Regions from separate parts of the Homo sapiens genome. Here regions 1 and 3 are each linked to region 2. Evidence: promoter capture Hi-C in 16 types of primary human blood cells and fetal thymus (Javierre and others, 2016). All regions are on one chromosome and are shown on one strand. Each heading gives the region's core, a stretch centred on a gene start or on the middle of the fragment in contact. The rest is flanking DNA. Distances are from core to core; before and after follow the strand shown. Region 1 overlaps RNF157 (ring finger protein 157). Region 2 holds the start of EXOC7 (exocyst complex component 7). Region 3 overlaps SRP68 (signal recognition particle 68).

The links. The method cuts DNA at HindIII sites, captures the fragments that hold promoters and counts their contacts. A CHiCAGO score of 5 or more calls a contact.
Region 1: a fragment that was not itself captured here is called in contact with the fragment with the promoter of EXOC7 in region 2 in 3 of 17 cell types (M1 macrophages, endothelial precursors and megakaryocytes); the score reaches 6.4 in M1 macrophages.
Region 3: a fragment that was not itself captured here is called in contact with the fragment with the promoter of EXOC7 in region 2 in 1 of 17 cell types (endothelial precursors); the score reaches 5.2 in endothelial precursors.

The regions. Positions count from the first base shown.
Region 1 is chr17:76,223,325-76,226,024 of GRCh38, reverse strand. All of the region lies in intron 1 of RNF157 (ring finger protein 157), which reads left to right. It also overlaps the pseudogene ATF4P3. Among named protein-coding and RNA genes, the nearest start is that of RNF157, 16 kb to the left of the region's middle. The HindIII fragment of the contact is 221 bases long and covers 1,312-1,532 here.
Region 2 is chr17:76,102,508-76,105,207 of GRCh38, reverse strand. It overlaps EXOC7 (exocyst complex component 7), which reads left to right and starts at 1,421. Exons shown (of 19, transcript NM_001013839.4): 1 at 1,421-1,575; 2 at 1,782-1,847. The coding sequence starts at 1,516. The HindIII fragment of the contact is 3,319 bases long and covers 650-2,700 here.
Region 3 is chr17:76,037,679-76,040,378 of GRCh38, reverse strand. SRP68 (signal recognition particle 68) reads left to right here. Exons shown (of 16, transcript NM_014230.4): 16 at 446-1,594. The coding sequence ends at 673. Among named protein-coding and RNA genes, the nearest start is that of EVPL, 12 kb to the right of the region's middle. RefSeq lists an enhancer at 1-221. The HindIII fragment of the contact is 2,268 bases long and covers 117-2,384 here.

The DNA of each region.
Region 1 (2,700 bases), core at 173-2,672, 120 kb before region 2:
CGATCCTCCTGGAGAGAAGATGGTAGCAGCAAAAGTAAAGGGTGAGAAACTGGATAAGAAGCTGAAAAAAATGGAGCAAAACAAGACAGCAGCCACTAGGTACCGCCAGAAGAAGAGGGCGGAGCAGGAGGCTCTCACTGGCGAGTGCAAAGAGCTGGAAAAGAAGAACGAGGCTCTAAAAGAGAGGGCAGATTCCCTGGCCAAGGAGATCCAGTACCTGAAAGATTTGATAGAAGAGGTCCGCAAGGCAAGGGGGAAGAAAAGGGTCCCCTAGTTGAGGGTAGGTCAGGAGTGTCAACGTGCTTGTACATAGAGTGTCTGCTGTAGCTGTGTGTTCCAATAAATTATTTTGTAGGGAAAAAAATACATATTATTTGGCCACTAAAAACAATGAGGTCATGCCATAAATACAGACATAGATGCCTACAGTATATTAGGTGAAAGCAACTTGCAGATCAATATGTGCATTCAATTATGCAGACAATATGTGCATTCAAATAGTCCATTCAATTAAAAAAAATAATAGAACAGGAAGACCTGGACATATTTGTATATGTATAAAAAAATCTGGAAGGCCACACCCAATTGTGAATAGTGGAGTTACTTCTTATGGAGTAGGGTTAAATTTTAAATTATTAACTTATATATACTAATTTTTTTGGCAAAGGACATGTATTGTGTATTTCTATTTCTTTTTCTTTTTGTGGAGATGGAGTCTTGCTATGTTGCCCAGGCTGGTTTGAACTCCTGGGCTCAAGTGATCCTCCCACCTCAGCCTCCCAAAGTGCTGGGATTACAGTTGTGAGCCATTGCACCTAACATGTAATATTTTTGTTTTTATTTTTATATTTTTGAGATGGAGGCTCACTCTGTTGCCTAGGCTGGAGTGCAGTAGTGCAATCTTGGCTCACTGCAGCCTCTGCCTCCCAGGTTCAAGCGATTCTTCTGCCTCAGCCTCCCAAGTAGCTGGGATTACAGATGCCCGCCACCATACCCGGCTAATTTTTGTGTTTTTGGTAGAGACAGGGTTTCACCATGTTGGCCAGGTTGGTCTCGAACTCCTGACCTCAAGTGATCTGCCCACCTTGGCCTCCCAAAGTGCTGGGATTACAGGCATGAGCCACTGCTCCCAGCCCTAATTTTTTAAATAATTAAAAATATGCTCTAGGGCAAGTTTGTACAACCCACGCCCCATGGGCTGGGCTACATGTGGCCCAGGATGGCTTTGAATGCAGCGCAACACAAATTAGTAAACTTTCTTAAAACATTATGAGTTTTTTTGCAGTTTCTTTCTTTTTTTTTTTTAAAGCTTATCAGCTATCAGTAGTGTTAGTGTATTTCAAGTGTGGCGTAAGACCATTCTTCTTTTTCCAGTGTGGCCAAGGGAAGTCAAAAGATTAGGCACCCTTGCTCTAGGGGGAAAACTTAAAAATGAAGAACAAAAGCAGCACTGTAGCATTATAGAATTGAGCTGAATATTTAGAGGTGTTTGCAGTTTTCTAGTTTTCTTCTTATTTTTGTGATCTAAAGCTTATTGTTATTGAAATGTCATGTAGATGAAGATTTTTTCAAATATATGAAAATTTACTAGGATTCCCATAGCCTATAGATTCCCATAGAATTGTAGAAGAATAGAAAATGGGTTTAATTGTCCTTTATTATATGTTGTTATAATTCATAGTGGTTTGCTAACAAATGTCACAATATCTTATTGAGGCAGACATAATTTAGGGAACCCATTGCTCAATATTTAATTTCACTGTGGTATTAGGAATATGTCCCAAAAACTTAAATTCAAAATGATTAGGCAAATTATTTAATACAATGAATTTTAAATGAGATTTTTCTTTTTTGTTCACATTATAAGGAACAAATAGTTGATTTTCCTTTGTTGAAGTCAATTTATTGATTTTGGGCTTTCGCTTCAAAAATTGCCATTGATAGGGTAGGGCTCCCTCAGTGTAATGCAAGTTCCCTTTGCATTGCCCTGAGTTCTTGTAGAGCCAGAAAGTGCTGATAGTGACTAAGATAAAGTCAGATGTTAAGGAGTAGTGTCTGGAGCTGCTCTGGCCAGTGTGGGCCTTGCCCTGTGTTATTATACTTACTTCTTTCTGATGGTGCTCTGCAAAGTTGTATATGAATTGTGTATGTGTTGAAAACACTGCATGTTCTAACATTTTTTACTGAGGTTCAGAGTTATTTTGCTTTTGTTTCCAAAAATATAAAGTTGGGCAGTGCAGTCTGTTTGGTTTTTTGTTTCATTATATTCCATATTTTATTCTGAACAGGGAGGCTGTACGTTGAACTTAGTGGTTCTTCCACTAGATATGTAAAACACAATATTTAACGTTTATGTGGAAAACAAAATGTTTTTGAGACTAAGGGGTTTGATTTACAATTCCTGTTTGTCAGAAAGAAAAAAATTTGGGTTTTATATGGTTAAGCATTTTATCATCAATTCATTATCCCTCTTTCTTTTTTCCTATTACAGTACAGGAAAAGGAAGAGTCAGGTATTGTTTATGTGTAAAGAACCTTGGCCGAGCATGGTGGCCCATGCCTGTAATCCCAGCACTTTGGGAGGCCGAGGCGGATGGATCACCTGAGGTCAGGAGTTCGAGACCAGTCTGGCCAACATGGTGAAACCCCGTCTCTACTAAAAATACAAAAATTAGCCAGGTTTGGTGGCACATGCCTGTAA
Region 2 (2,700 bases), core at 172-2,671:
TGAGCCCAAAACACCCTCTCTACAGCGGCTAACTAGCCCCGCTACTCTATTCTGTGACATCTAACAGTTTAAACTTTCTCCTACTTAGCCCTTTGGACTACACAAGGACCATGTCAGCGAAATCATCCTGGGTATTTCCTGACACAGGAATCAGCCTTTTATCTCCCCCACCTACAACAGGATTGAAATTGTCCTCTTGCCTGAGGGAAGGCTGCCCATCCCTCTCCAGGCTCTGTGCACCCACTTCCTCCTCCTCCTCCTCTTCGGGTGACTATGGGTGGAGTGAGCGCTTGGGAACCCTAGAGCTTGGGTTCTTCCTTCTCTCCTTCTCTCCTTAGGCCGGGAGCAGGGGCTCACGCCTGTAATCTCAGGACTTTGGAAGGCCAAGGCGGGTGGATCACTTGAGGTCAGGAGTTCGAGACTAGCCTGGGCAACATGGCGAAACCCTGTCTCTACTAATAATACAAAAAAATTAGCCGGGCGTGTTGGCAGCCGCCTGTAATCCCAGCTACTCGGGACGCTGAGGCACGAGAATCACTTGAACCCGGGAGGCAGAGACTGCAATGAGCCAAGATCGTGCCACTTGCACTCCAGCCTGGGCGACAGAGTGAGACTCTCTCTCAAAAGAAAAGAAAGGAAAAAAAAAGCTTGGTGTCCCCCCTGCCCGCCCCAAACCTTCTCATCTACCAGCACATGCCTCCTTGTCTATCTTCCGGGTGTCTGGACACTGAGGCCACAGAAGGACTGAACCAAGCTGGTCGGCCTTGTCCTTTCTCAAGGCTGGGGGCCAGAGGCAGGGTGGGCAGGGACGGGTTAGAGGAAGGAGTAACTCGAGGTTTTGCAGGAGCTGGGTCTGCAACCACAACATCCAGCCCCGCAGGGAAGTTGATCCAGGGGCGCCCCCCACCCCGTCCCCTGGAGCTGCAGTTGGACGCTGGGTCTGGGCCTGGAGCTCCGGAGCAGCCCCGCCAGCCCACAGGATACGTTTTTGCGTAATGCAGGGTGGAAGGCGGAAACAAGTACACAAGCCCCTGGTTCATTACATGGACACACGTTAGGCATCTACTGTGTCACCTGCTCCGTGCGGGGCTTTGTGGGAAACGCAATTGGCCTTGGTGCCTGCCCATAGAATGCGACCTGGGGAAAGGAATTCGTCGCCTTCCCCAGCAGTCTTTATCAAAAGGGTCGGTCTTTCAACGAAAACAGCAAGTGAGCTCTAAGTGTCCTGCCAGCCGCGGGACATAAGGCCGATCGAAAACCTCTGCTGAGGCAAGGAACCCGCGTCGAGGTCCCTTGCAGCATCCGAATACACTTCTCTTCCCAGCCACGCTCAAAATGGCCGTCGGTCCGTTCTTGGGCTCCGCGCAGGCGCACTTCAGCCTGCGATTCCCAACATGGCTCCGCCCAGGCGTCCCGGGGCGGGACCAAGAGCGGAAGTGGGTGTGACGGGGACGGGGGCCCGGTGGGCCCGCGGAGGAAAGATACTGGGGAGTGGGAGCCGCGGGGTTCAGAGCGATGATTCCCCCACAGGAGGCATCCGCTCGACGGCGGGAGATTGAGGACAAGCTGAAGCAGGTGGGCGTGGGCCTGGGGAGGCTGGGGAGGAGGTGAGGGAAAGGGGCCAACAGCGGGGCCTGATTGTCTACTCATGGAGGAGGCAGGGGTGGGAGGGAGCGCACCCAGCGAGGAGATGGGGTTGGGGGCTAGGCCGTGGGGTTGGGACGCAGTGGTCTCCTTTAGCTTCTGGTTTCTGGTGATGTCCTCCCCTTGCCTGCCCCCAGGAGGAGGAGACTCTGTCCTTCATCCGAGACAGCCTGGAGAAGAGCGACCAGCTCACTAAGAACATGGTGAGTCTCCCCGCAGCTGGGGGAGAGGGCAGGCCTCCGGACCCTGGGGGAGAGCCTTGCGACCTGGCGGTTCCGGTTCCTGCGGCCTGGAGTTCTGGAATGGGCAGCGACGGAGGCAGTGTGTGGGTTTATCTAGCAACAGTTTGGCATCTCTCCTGCCTAGCCCCCTCCCCATGTTCCGTACCCTCACTGAGGAGGCTGCACTTCCCACTGGCCTGGACTTGCTGCTTTCTGTCTAAGCTCGCCATTCTTCCTTCTCTCCTTCTGCAAACACTCAGTGAGTCTGACCAGTTGGGCTAGGTACTGGGCATATGTCATTGTCAGTGGACTCTCTGCCCAGGAGGTTGGCACTTTGAGATTCCTGAGGGCAGAGAAGACTCAGCCTTCACTCCAGAGGACTTTAGGGAAAGAAAGAGCTCTAAAGTCAGGCAGATCTGGGATCTAGTCCTTGCCCTTCTGCTTAAATGTGCGGCTCCTGATAGGTAACTGGTGTCAGCGAATTCATCTGCTAAAACAGAGACTGTGCCAGCCTCCCAGTGTGTCTGTGAAGGTCATATGCGCTAATGCATGCGACTGCATCTTGCACAGTGCCTGGTATACAATAGGTGCTCAATAAGTGAGTTTCCTTCTTTATTCCTAGGGGAGACTGGAAAAGCACAAAGTGAGTAAATACAAACTTGTATTTGCATTTAGTCACACAATAATAAAGTCCTAGTCCTTTTCTAAAAATTTTAATTTTTAAATTTTTTTTTTTAGAGGCAGAGTCTGGCTGTGTTGTGCAGGCTAGAGTGCAGTGGCATGACTGTAGCTCACTGCAGTCTCTAACTCCTGGGCTCAGGCAGTCCTCCTGCCT
Region 3 (2,700 bases), core at 1-2,500, 65 kb after region 2:
TTAGTAACAAACTAGGAATGCATGCTCATTATAGAGCAGTGGACCCTAAATTTCTAAGGAAACCCCCCACCTCCCTCCCTTCTCTTACCCAACCTCAAAGCTTCTTGCATAAAGCTTCCTAGATGTCAGATCATCCCTGGGAAGAGGGTTGAGGAACCTGTTGCTGTAAAGAGTAGCACCCGTGGGTAAGAGCTCTAACTCGTAACATGGCCAACAGGCCTGCACCCCAGTCCTAGCCTGCCACTCTCTTAGCCTCTCTGGGTTTCAGTGACTTTGACTACAAGGCAGGGATGTGGTAGCCCCTCCTCGTAGGAGGCTGTCGGGATTGAGTGATTGAGTGAGATGGCCCCTGTAAAGCTCTGAACCAGGCAGTCGGCACTCAGGAATGTTCACCAAGGGTGTTCTGTGACCGATGCTACATACGTCTCTTTGATTTGACTTCCAGCCTCTGGTTGAACGGTTTGAGACATTCTGCCTGGACCCTTCCCTTGTCACCAAGCAAGCCAACCTTGTGCACTTCCCACCAGGCTTCCAGCCCATTCCCTGCAAGCCTTTGTTCTTTGACCTGGCCCTCAACCATGTGGCTTTCCCACCCCTTGAGGACAAGTTGGAACAGAAGACCAAGAGTGGCCTCACTGGATACATCAAGGGCATCTTTGGATTCAGGAGCTAACCAGGCTCTTCCTCGGGGGCGGGGGAGATTCTGACTCTTAATCTGTATTGTGAGAAAATCCCAGCAAGTTCCATGATATTAAATCCAGGTCTGCATTGGCCCGGGGCAAGAGTTTAACATCTTCGGCCCTGCATTCCTACATCTTGTGTCTGTACACGTTCTTAAGCAGCGTGTCAGGAGAGCACCCTGTTGTCTTCTGGTAAATGTGTGCAGGGTCATCCTGTCTCCTGTACCTCCTGGGAAAGGGGCCGCTGCTGTCTGGTGCCCTGTGAGCTGTGATTGATTGCCTTTGGTCAGTAATGCGTTCAGGAGTCCACACCAGGCACAGATGGGGCCTTGAAACGCTTTGTCATGCTTCTTCAGTACCATGGATTTGAAATGAACTCATCCTTGCTGTGAGCATCCAGGAGCCCTTGAGAAGTTTATCTATGACTATGAAACTGGCAACGTCACCCCAGAATTACGGTCAGCCTTATTCCCCTTCACCTCCCAGTGAACGCTAAGAAGTTTCAGACAAGCAGAGAGCTCTATTTTTAGAAGAAATATGTTACACTCAGAAATGATGAAACCAAATCTTATATTAAAAGGCAAAGATGACGGAGACTGTGCCCATTTCTTATATGCCCTCCCTCATGTCCAGTCCCCGTTCTCTCCTCGGGAGCCTAGTTGCGTGAAGCCGGTGAGGTCAAGTGTAACCTGACTTACCGGCAACTAGGTGAGGCTGATGCCAGATACACATGTTAGAGGCACTATTTTTCAGGACTTCCCAATGTGTAATTTTTAGATGCCATTATATTTTAATCCCCTTCGTTACCCCCCGTTTTTCCTTAGTCATCCCTTTTCACTTCTATTATAACATCAATAATAGAAGTCACAAAAACAATGTAAGAAAGCAAGGAATAAAAGTGATTTAAACATGTACCTGACACTTAACGATTCCCTTTGGAAATCAAAACTCATCTGTCACATAGGAAAGAAAATTCGTCACAAGAAATGTTGGCTTAGATGTTTTCCGTTTTTGAGCAAACCCAGTGGCTTGAAGAAAAGGCTGACTGGTTAAAAATCCAAGAGCATTGTTTCAGGATGGCATTGTAACCCCCCGAGGGTTCTTGCCCGCTGCCCAGATGGAGTTGATTCATGGAAACAGGAATTGCAATAGAGAGTTTAGTTCACACACAGCCGTCTAAACAGGAGACTGGAGTTTATTACTCACATTGGTCTCCCTGAAAATTCAGAGACTGGGAATTTTAAGGATAATTTGGTGGGTAGGGGGTCAGGAAATGGGGAGTGCTGATTGGTCAGGTTGGAGATGAAGTCATAGGGAGTTGGAGATGAAGTCAGGGAGTTGGAGATGAAGTCATAGGGAGTTGAAGCTGGCCTCTTGTGCTGAGTCGGTTTCCTGGGTGGGGGCTACAAGACCAGATGAGCCAGTTTGGATGGATGGTGCCAGCTGATCCATAAAGTGCAGGGTCTGAAAAATATCTCGAGCACCATTCTTAGGTTTTACAACAGTGATGTCATCCCTAGGAGCAACTGGGAAGGTTCAGAATCTTGGGCCTCTGGCTGCATGACTCCTAAACCATAATTTCAATTTTTGTGGCTAATTCGTTAGTCCTACAAAGGCAGTCTGGGCCCCAGGCAAGAAGGGGGTTTATTTCCGGAAAGTGCTGTTACCATCTTTGTTTCAAAGTTAAACAGTAAACTGTAAGCTTCTCCCAAAGTGAGTTCGGCTTATTCCCAGGAATGAACAAGGACAGCTTGGAGGTTAGAAGCAAGATGGAGTGGGTTAGGCTAGACCTTTTTCACTCTAATAATCTCACCGTTAGAATTTTTGTAAAGGTGGTTTTAGAATGCCACTGTGGGCTTGGCTGTGCCTTTTGTTTTCCCAGTAAGTTGCAGGGAGGGAAGGCTATAAGAGCTAGAAAGGATGGTGAGACACAAATCAGGCTTCTTGTTAGAATTGTGTTGTGGCTTAGAACCTTGAGATGCTCGCAGAGAGGCCCTGATCCCCCGGGGTTTGTTTTGGG